Regions from separate parts of the Homo sapiens genome. Here region 1 is linked to region 2. The links are contacts of gene promoters, found by promoter capture Hi-C in human tissues and cell types (Jung and others, 2019). All regions are on one chromosome and are shown on one strand. Each heading gives the region's core, a stretch centred on a gene start or on the middle of the fragment in contact. The rest is flanking DNA. Distances are from core to core; before and after follow the strand shown.

Region 1 (3,839 bases), core at 890-3,389, 130 kb after region 2:
GTCATGGCTTCCTTGGCTAGGAAAGGGAAATCCCCCGACCCCTTGTGTTTCCTGGGTGAAGTGATGCCCCGCCCTGCTTCGGCTTGCCATCCATGGGCTGCATCCACTGTCCTACCAGTCCCAATGAGATGAACCATGTACCTCTTTTGGAAATGCAGAAATCACCATCTTCTGTGTTGATCACACTGGGAGCTGCAGACTGGAGCTGTTTCTATTTGGCCATCTTGGAATGGAATCTTCGTTTGTGTGCATTTAATGAGTTTTGACAGATCATATACTTATATAATCTAAATTCTTATCAAGATATAGAATATTACCATTACTTCAGAAAGTTTGCATTCAGTCTTCATCCCCACCCCCATTCTTAATTATTTACTCCATGGGTTGGTTTTGCCTGTTCTAGAATTTCATATAAATGGAATCATCCATTATATTGTTCTGCCTTTAATTTTTCTCTGTATTTCTATTCTCTTAGAATTTATCTTTTAAACTTGGCTATGTTGTTAAACATACTGTGTCCGGAATTGGTGGGTTCTTGGTCTCACTGACTTCAAGAATGAAGCCGCGGACCCTCGCGGTGAGTGTTACAGTTCTTAAAGGCGGCGTGTCTGGAGTTTGTTCCTTCTGATGTTTGGATATATTCGGAGTTTCTTCCTTCTGGTGGGTTTGTGGTCTCGCTGGCTCAGGAGTGAAGCTGCAGACCTTCGCAGTGAGTGTTACAGCTCATAAAGGCAGTGTGGACCAAAAGAGTGAGCAGCAGCAAGATTTATTGCAAAGAGTGAAAGAACAAAGCTTCCACAGTGTGGAAGGGGACCTGAGCAGGTTGCTACTGCTGGCTTGGGCAGCCTGCTTTTATTTTCTTATCTGGCCCCACCCACATCCTGCTGATTGCTCCATTTTACAGAGAGCCGAGTCTGTTTTGACAGGGTGCTGATTGGTGTGTTTACAATCCCTGAGCTAGACACAAAGGTTCTCCAAGTCCCTAACAGAGTAGCTAGATACAGAGTGTCGATTGGTACATTCACAAACCCTGAGCCAGACACAAGGTGCTGATTGGTGTGTTTACAAACCTTGAGCTAGATACAGAGTGCCGATTGGTGTATTTACAATCCCCTAGCTAGACATAAAGGTTCTCCAAGTCCCCACCAGTCAGGAGCCCAGCTGGCTTCACCCAGTGGATCCTGCACTGGGGCTGCAGGTGGAGCTGCCTGCCAGTCCCATGCCGTGCGCCCGCACGCCTCAGCCTTTGCGTGGTCATTGGGACCGGGCGCCGTAGAGCAGGGGATGGTGCTCGTTGGGGAGGCTTGGGCCACACAGGAGCCCAGGGTGGCGTGGTTGGAGGGGGCGGGGGAGGCTCAGGCATGGCGGGCTGCAGGCAGCTAAGGCCCGGCAAGAAATCGAGCGCAGTGCCAGTGGGCCGGCACTGCTGGGGGACCCAGCACACCCTCTGCAGCCACTGGCCTGGGTGCTAAGCTCCTCATTGCCCGGGCCGGCAGGGCTGGCCGGGCGCTCTGAGTGCAGCCCGCTGAGCCCACACTCACCCTGAACTTGCACTGGCCTGCAAGCACCGCGCAGCCCCGGTTCCCGCCTGCGCCTCTCCCTCCACACCTCCCTGCAAGCTGAGGGAGCCGGCTCCGGCCTCAGCCAGCCCAGGAAGGGGCTCCAACAGCCCAGCGGCGGGCACTTCCTCAAGTGCCGCCAAAGTGGGAGCTCAGGCAGAGAGGCCCCGAGAGTGAGCAAGGGCTGTGAGGGCTGCCAGCATGCTGTCAACTCTCAATACTACTTACATATTTTCAGCATTTATATGTGATTGTGAATTGAGTCAGCATATTTTAAAAAGTCAGTCTCTGATAGTCTCTTTTGATGATGTCATTATATCTGCAATTAATGATGATTCTTCTTCCTTACCTATAGCTTACATCTTATTTTTATCTTACTGAATTGTCTAAAATTCTTGAACAGTTTTGAATAACTACTGTGATACCAAGAACCCTTAATACTGACTTTATAAGAATTGCCTTATTTAGTATTTTATCATTCAGTAGGAATTTTGTTTTTGGCTTCTAATTGGTATTCTTTATCAAATTAAGGAAGTTGGTTTTCATCCTGTCCTATTCATCTTCATATTAAGAACATGAGTTAAATTTTATTTAATGAAGGCATATATGATGTTTTCCTCATTTTGCTTATTCATAATGGATTACATAAAAAGATCTAATGTTAAACCAGCCTTGTAATTCCTAAATTAAACTTTTTTTGTCACAGCATATTTTCTTTTATATACTGCTAGATACAATTTAATGTTTTATGTACAATCTTTGCTTTTAAATGAGATTGGTCTGAAGTTTGTACCAGCCTTGTCTGGTTTTAGTACCAAGATTATGTCAGCTTCATAAATGAATTGGGAAATACCCCATATGTTTCTGTTTACTGTAGTTGGTTGAAGTGACATAGGAACTATATTTTCGGAAGGTATGGTATAACTTATTTATAAAATCATCAGGATTTTGGTACCTCTTTTGGAGTTAGATCTTTTACTACCTGTTATAGTTCCCCTTTGATACGAGAATTTGGTGTTGCTTCTTTTATTCCCAGTCAGTTTGGGTTATTTATATTTTCATGGATGATTTGATCTAGATTTTTGAATTATGGGTGCATGGCCAAATGACTTTCCCTTACAGCTTAAGTGTCTGATCTTCAATTAAACAATGTAGCTCTGTTCCCGTGGTAACCTGTTAAGGTAGTATGTGTCAATAACATTACTGCAGAACATTTTTATGATAAAAATGAAACCTGATTAGTTAATAACAGCTGGACTGGGAGGGACCAGAGATGAACTATAAATACTGTTAGAAACCGTAGCTTTTGGGCTTTTCTGAGTGCAGAGACTCGTGCGTGGCTTGTCATTTGGAGGGGCTCTGGAATCTTTGCTTATGGAATGTTACAAGAGAAATTGGCTCTTGTGGAACGGGGCTTCTGAGCTGACCATATACCCATGTGTCATTGTCATATGCTCATATTTGTGCTGTCACTTGAGGAGAAAATAGCTCCTAGACTGCTGTGTAATCTGTAGTTTCCCTCTGAGAAAGACTAGATGCTGGCCAGCTGGCAAGCTATAGTTCTTGTCTTCTATATTTTGGAATAGACTTATGCCAAATGTGGCCTGTGGTCATTTTTGTGGGTCTGAACATTTTAGCACAAGTTTATTGGAATAAAGTTATACTTGGCATTCTCTGTCTTTAAAAATCCCTTCCTCATCTGGGATTATATCCCCTTTTTTCCATTCCTAATTTATAAAAAAACTATCTCTTCTTTTCTTATTTATTACTATCTTTTGTTTTTATACATCATGCATAATTTTTAAAACATTCATTTTCTCTCTTAAAACTTTATGCTTTTTCTCTGCGGGTTCATTAATTTTGGGTTCATTTTCTCTCTTAAAACTTTATGCTTTTTTCTCTGCGGGTACTATTAAATAGTGTGACAAGAGCCGAATAAAGAGTAGTCTTCTTTTTACAAAGAAGGGCTGCTAGGATCTTTATTCCTTGAGTTACTGCATGTGCAGAAATATTCTTGGTTTTAAGTTTAAATAACATACTGGCTGGACAGCAGATTAGTTTGCCACACTTTATTTCCTTCAGAAGTCTGTGTCACCATGCTGTTTTTCAGTATTGAATTTCAAAAAGTCTAAGGAAAGTTTGATTTTTTAATATTATAATTAATGACTTAAATTTTTTGTCAGTATGTCCCAAAGATTCTTTCTTAGATTTCAAGATAAGATACATTGATATGTATTGATTATTCTGTATCTGTTTATTGGGGTGGAGAGATTGATGGAT
Region 2 (4,074 bases), core at 1,328-3,827:
TTCACCCTCCGCGCCAAGCACCCAACTCCCGGCTCTGCCTACAGTCACCCACAGACCTAATGATCGACTAAGCGCCGTAATGGCCCGAGATGACACCAGGAGACTCCCTTGCTGTGCGCCTCCGGAAGACGCGGAACGTAGCCCCTTTCTCACACTCCTGGGACACAAAAATACCCGACAACTCAAAGTCGCCAAACCACATCTTTTCATGCTTTGAAGACTTCTGCCCAAGGCTGTGGCAGGAGTATGTCCAACTGTGATTTGGGATTCTTTTTAAACATCGAATCAAAGGGAAGAGGGGAGGGATTCGCAACTAAATGGTAGTTGTTTTCAAGCAAGTCTTTACGTAGCCCCAAACCTACTCTAGTATTCGGTGATTCAGCCCCAAAACATCTCTGCCTGCCTTTATGTTCGGATCTCACTCCATTATTTGTCAGCACCAAGTACTAAACCCACAAAGCGATCGCTGTACGGGACACCAAACCCATACCTGCCCGTCCCCTACCTTCCAGGCAACCAGTGTCAATCTCCTCACTATACATAATTCCCAACATCCCTGCCCGAAGTGAGGAGAACGGTAATTTAAATAATACAGCGGGGGAGGAGAGGACACACTGTTTTTGAAAGACTGTAAGCATTCTGCTGTTCCACTCTGCGTCCTTACACTTGCTGAGCACTGACACCAAATTTAAATGGCGTTCCTTCAAAACTGATGTAATTGTAAAGAGCTGTAAAGGGCAATGACCTCAAGTGGATGTTTTTTCCCAGGTACCCTACAAGGTTTGCACAAAGCAAGAAAGCATCATGTAACCGAAATGCTGAAAAGTATAGATGCTGCAAAACCTCATTCTGAGACTGAGAACTATGAATAGTCAGTGTATTTCCTTCTGCGGTGCAGAAAAAGAACAACCAAAAAGAAAGCAACAAGGGGAGATGTTATTTATTTTAATGACACCAAAACTACCAATCCTAGCAATTTAATAAATTAAAATCATAGTCCTTTAAATGTATTTAATGGTTCAAGTTTGTGTATTTGGTGTTAACTCTCTGGTAAAGTTTATGGAAAACAGTGAAGTACGTTAATTGAGCAAATTTTATATTAAAAAAGGAATAACACATTTTAAAATGTTTTTATATACCCACAATATTTGTGTTTCTTAGCTTGGTTCCTACTATTACATAATACAATGCATTTCTTATTTTTTAAAGAGCAAAAAGTGTTGTCACTTCTGGATCACTTTATGGTAATTCCTAGGTATACTTCTAAGCAAACAAACATATCTATTTATAATTTTATTCAACTCACAAGTAAGAGATATTTAAAAAAAACAAATTGAAAGTTTTTTTTTTCTTCCTGATGCAAAACTTAACAAACTCCAATTAAATTCAATATTGGTCTGCCAGGGAAACGACCATAAAATTTACAGAAATTCTCCCAAAGATGCCTTTCAATTCTTCTCCTGACTTTAGTTCTAACTATACCATTTTTTTATAATTCCTCTATAAAAATCGAATCAAATCAAAGACGACGAGGAAAGAAAAATATTTCTAGAGTGATCTTAATTAACTGATCATTTCAGCAAAGAGCATTAGCAATGAAGAAGCGGCGAAACTGTAGGGAGAAAAAAAAGGATGCATTTTGTTCTTCGTGTTTATAATCCTTCCTAGAGAACAGAAACTACGAGCATGATTTATGGAACTGCATTATCTTGGATTTTCTCCGCAGATTTGACTCAACTTAGTATCAGTGTTCTGTTAAAGCGCTGGAATAAGTGGATACATCTGCAGAGGTAAGAAACGTGGTTTGGGTCGGATGAGCCTCCTTGTTGCTGGAGGGTGCTTCGAGGACCAGGCTTAGGAGAGAAGGGGTTAAGTCAGACCCTGTCTTTAGCGGCGCAACGTGCCCAGTTTTGTCTGTTAAAGTCAACGTCGCCCAACTGGAGCCAGCCAATGGACGGCCGGGAGCGCCCGGGACAGCCCAGTGGAGGGGTGTGGCCTCAGGCTGTCACTCAGCAGTGAGGAATGACACCCGGGCGGGAGGGGGGTGGTACAGTGGAACGCAAGGGAAGGAAAGAGAAAAGAAACAGATAAAACCAGGGCAGGGGGTAAAAAAGTTCCCCGCGCCTCTCGGAATCCAGCGGCCGCGGCCGCGGCTACCGCCGCCGCCGCCGGGGGTGGGCTCCGGAAGAGCCTGCCCAGCAGGGAAGGGGAGGACGGGCCAGGAGCGAAATCCTGCAGGCGAGGAAGGGACAGACGCGCAAAGAAAAAGTGACTCGGGCTGTGCGCCCCGGCGGCGCTCGGGAGGGGACTGCTGCCACGGAGGGGCCCCCGCCAATCCTCCTTCACGTCCCCCGAGGGGGCAGACCCCAGCCCGCCCCTAAGGGCGAGAAGCGATGAGATAATCCAGCTGAGCTGCGAAAGGAGAGCGTCTGGCTCTGGATTCGGGGGGAGGGGGTCTCCGGGCGGGGTGGGCCTCTAAGGTGGGGGCGAGGGTCGGCGCTGATCCTGGGACGGAGTGGGGCGGGAGCTGCTGGGCCGCGCAGCAGTGGGCGGCGGCGGCCTCGCACACCCAGCTCACTCGCGCTGCGGCCGCCGGCGCTCTCTGTCCCGCTCGGAGCTGCTCGGCGCCCCAGCTGCCCGCCCCGCCGGCCGCTCCTGCCCGCGGCGCAGATGGCTGTGCGCGGCGCCAACACCTTGACGTCCTTCTCCATCCAGGCGATCCTCAACAAGAAAGAGGAGCGCGGCGGGCTGGCCGCGCCAGAGGGGCGCCCGGCGCCCGGGGGCACAGCGGCATCGGTGGCCGCGGCTCCCGCTGTCTGCTGTTGGCGGCTCTTTGGGGAGAGGGACGCGGGCGCGTTGGGGGGCGCCGAGGACTCTCTGCTGGCGTCTCCTGCCGGTACCAGAACAGCTGCGGGGCGGACTGCGGAGAGCCCGGAAGGCTGGGACTCGGACTCCGCGCTCAGCGAGGAGAACGAGAGCAGGCGGCGCTGCGCGGACGCGCGGGGGGCCAGCGGGGCCGGCCTTGCGGGGGGATCCTTGAGCCTCGGCCAGCCGGTCTGTGAGCTGGCCGCTTCCAAAGACCTAGAGGAGGAAGCCGCGGGCCGGAGCGACAGCGAGATGTCCGCCAGCGTCTCAGGTCTGCTGCGGCTTCGCGGGGATGGGGGCCGGGCTGAGGGGATGGACGCGGAGGGCAACCACGCCGAGTGGGGTGGTCGGCTTGAGCACCCTGCGCCCTGGGGCTCGGAGGCTGGCCAAATCCCGAAGTTCTGCGCTCTGGCGCGAGCTGCTCTATCACTTCGGGAACTGAGCCCGCGAGAGACCGGAGTAGCTCCTCAGAGCCCTACGTCCTGGGGTGAGGCCTGAGACATCCTGGGCCAATGTGCATTAGACTGGGTTGGGAGAACCGCTGCCCCTTGCGTTCGGGAGTTTTTGAGTTCGTCGCCAGTGCTTTCTGCCGTGTCTGTCCCCAAATCCCCAAAATCAGGGAAGCGGAAAAGTGAGGGGTTCAGAGACCTCAGGTAGCCAGTGACCTAGCTCTGGACCAGAGACCTGCCAGTTCAAGGTCCCAGGGCCGGGCCCCACAGTAGGTGGATAGGTGGTGAAGAACACCTCCGAGTGGGCCAGAGCTGAGAATCTGCAGAACTAGAGCTTTGGGGAAAGGGCTGGTTTGGCTTTCTCAGACCCCAGGTCTGGGAGAGCAGCCCTAGGCCGAAGATCCCGGATTGGGTCTTTAGTTCATCCTGGAGGCAGGAGAGAGGCCTCCTCAGCCGTGGCCTGTCCTGTCCTGTGGTCTGGAAGACCCGGGTGCCTGCCCTAGTTGGGTACAAGCTTCTGTAGGCCTCAAGCACAGGGGACCGCTGGACCTTTCTGCTGGAGTTCTTCGGAAGGGCGGGTACGAGACCGAGAAGCTGGTGTGGGATCAGGGTCCAAAAACTCGATGCAGGGGCAACCCTCCCTCTTTACTCTCCAGTCCATCCTCTCATCTAAGGCCTCGGCTCAGCCTGTTTCCATGTCTCTCACAGCAATCCCAGGCGGCTGAGGGTGAAAGATTCTAAATACCTTTGGCCCCAGGAT

The links. The method cuts DNA at HindIII sites, captures the fragments that hold promoters and counts their contacts. A contact is called where the count stands out against the background at its distance.
Region 1: a contact is called between a fragment that was not itself captured here and the fragment with the promoter of NKX3-2 in region 2, in 1 of the 25 tissues and cell types used here (mesendoderm cells).

The regions. Positions count from the first base shown.
Region 1 is chr4:13,413,160-13,416,998 of GRCh38, reverse strand. The region is part of intron 4 of RAB28 (RAB28, member RAS oncogene family); the gene reads left to right. Among named protein-coding and RNA genes, the nearest start is that of RAB28, 69 kb to the left of the region's middle. RefSeq lists an enhancer at 907-1,417. The HindIII fragment of the contact is 4,022 bases long and covers 129-3,839 here.
Region 2 is chr4:13,543,011-13,547,084 of GRCh38, reverse strand. It overlaps NKX3-2 (NK3 homeobox 2), which reads left to right and starts at 2,577. Exons shown (of 2, transcript NM_001189.4): 1 at 2,577-3,136. The coding sequence starts at 2,671. LINC01096 (long intergenic non-protein coding RNA 1096) reads left to right here. Exons shown (of 1, transcript NR_015450.1): 1 at 1-1,009. RefSeq lists an enhancer at 1-451. The HindIII fragment of the contact is 14,287 bases long and covers 1-4,074 here.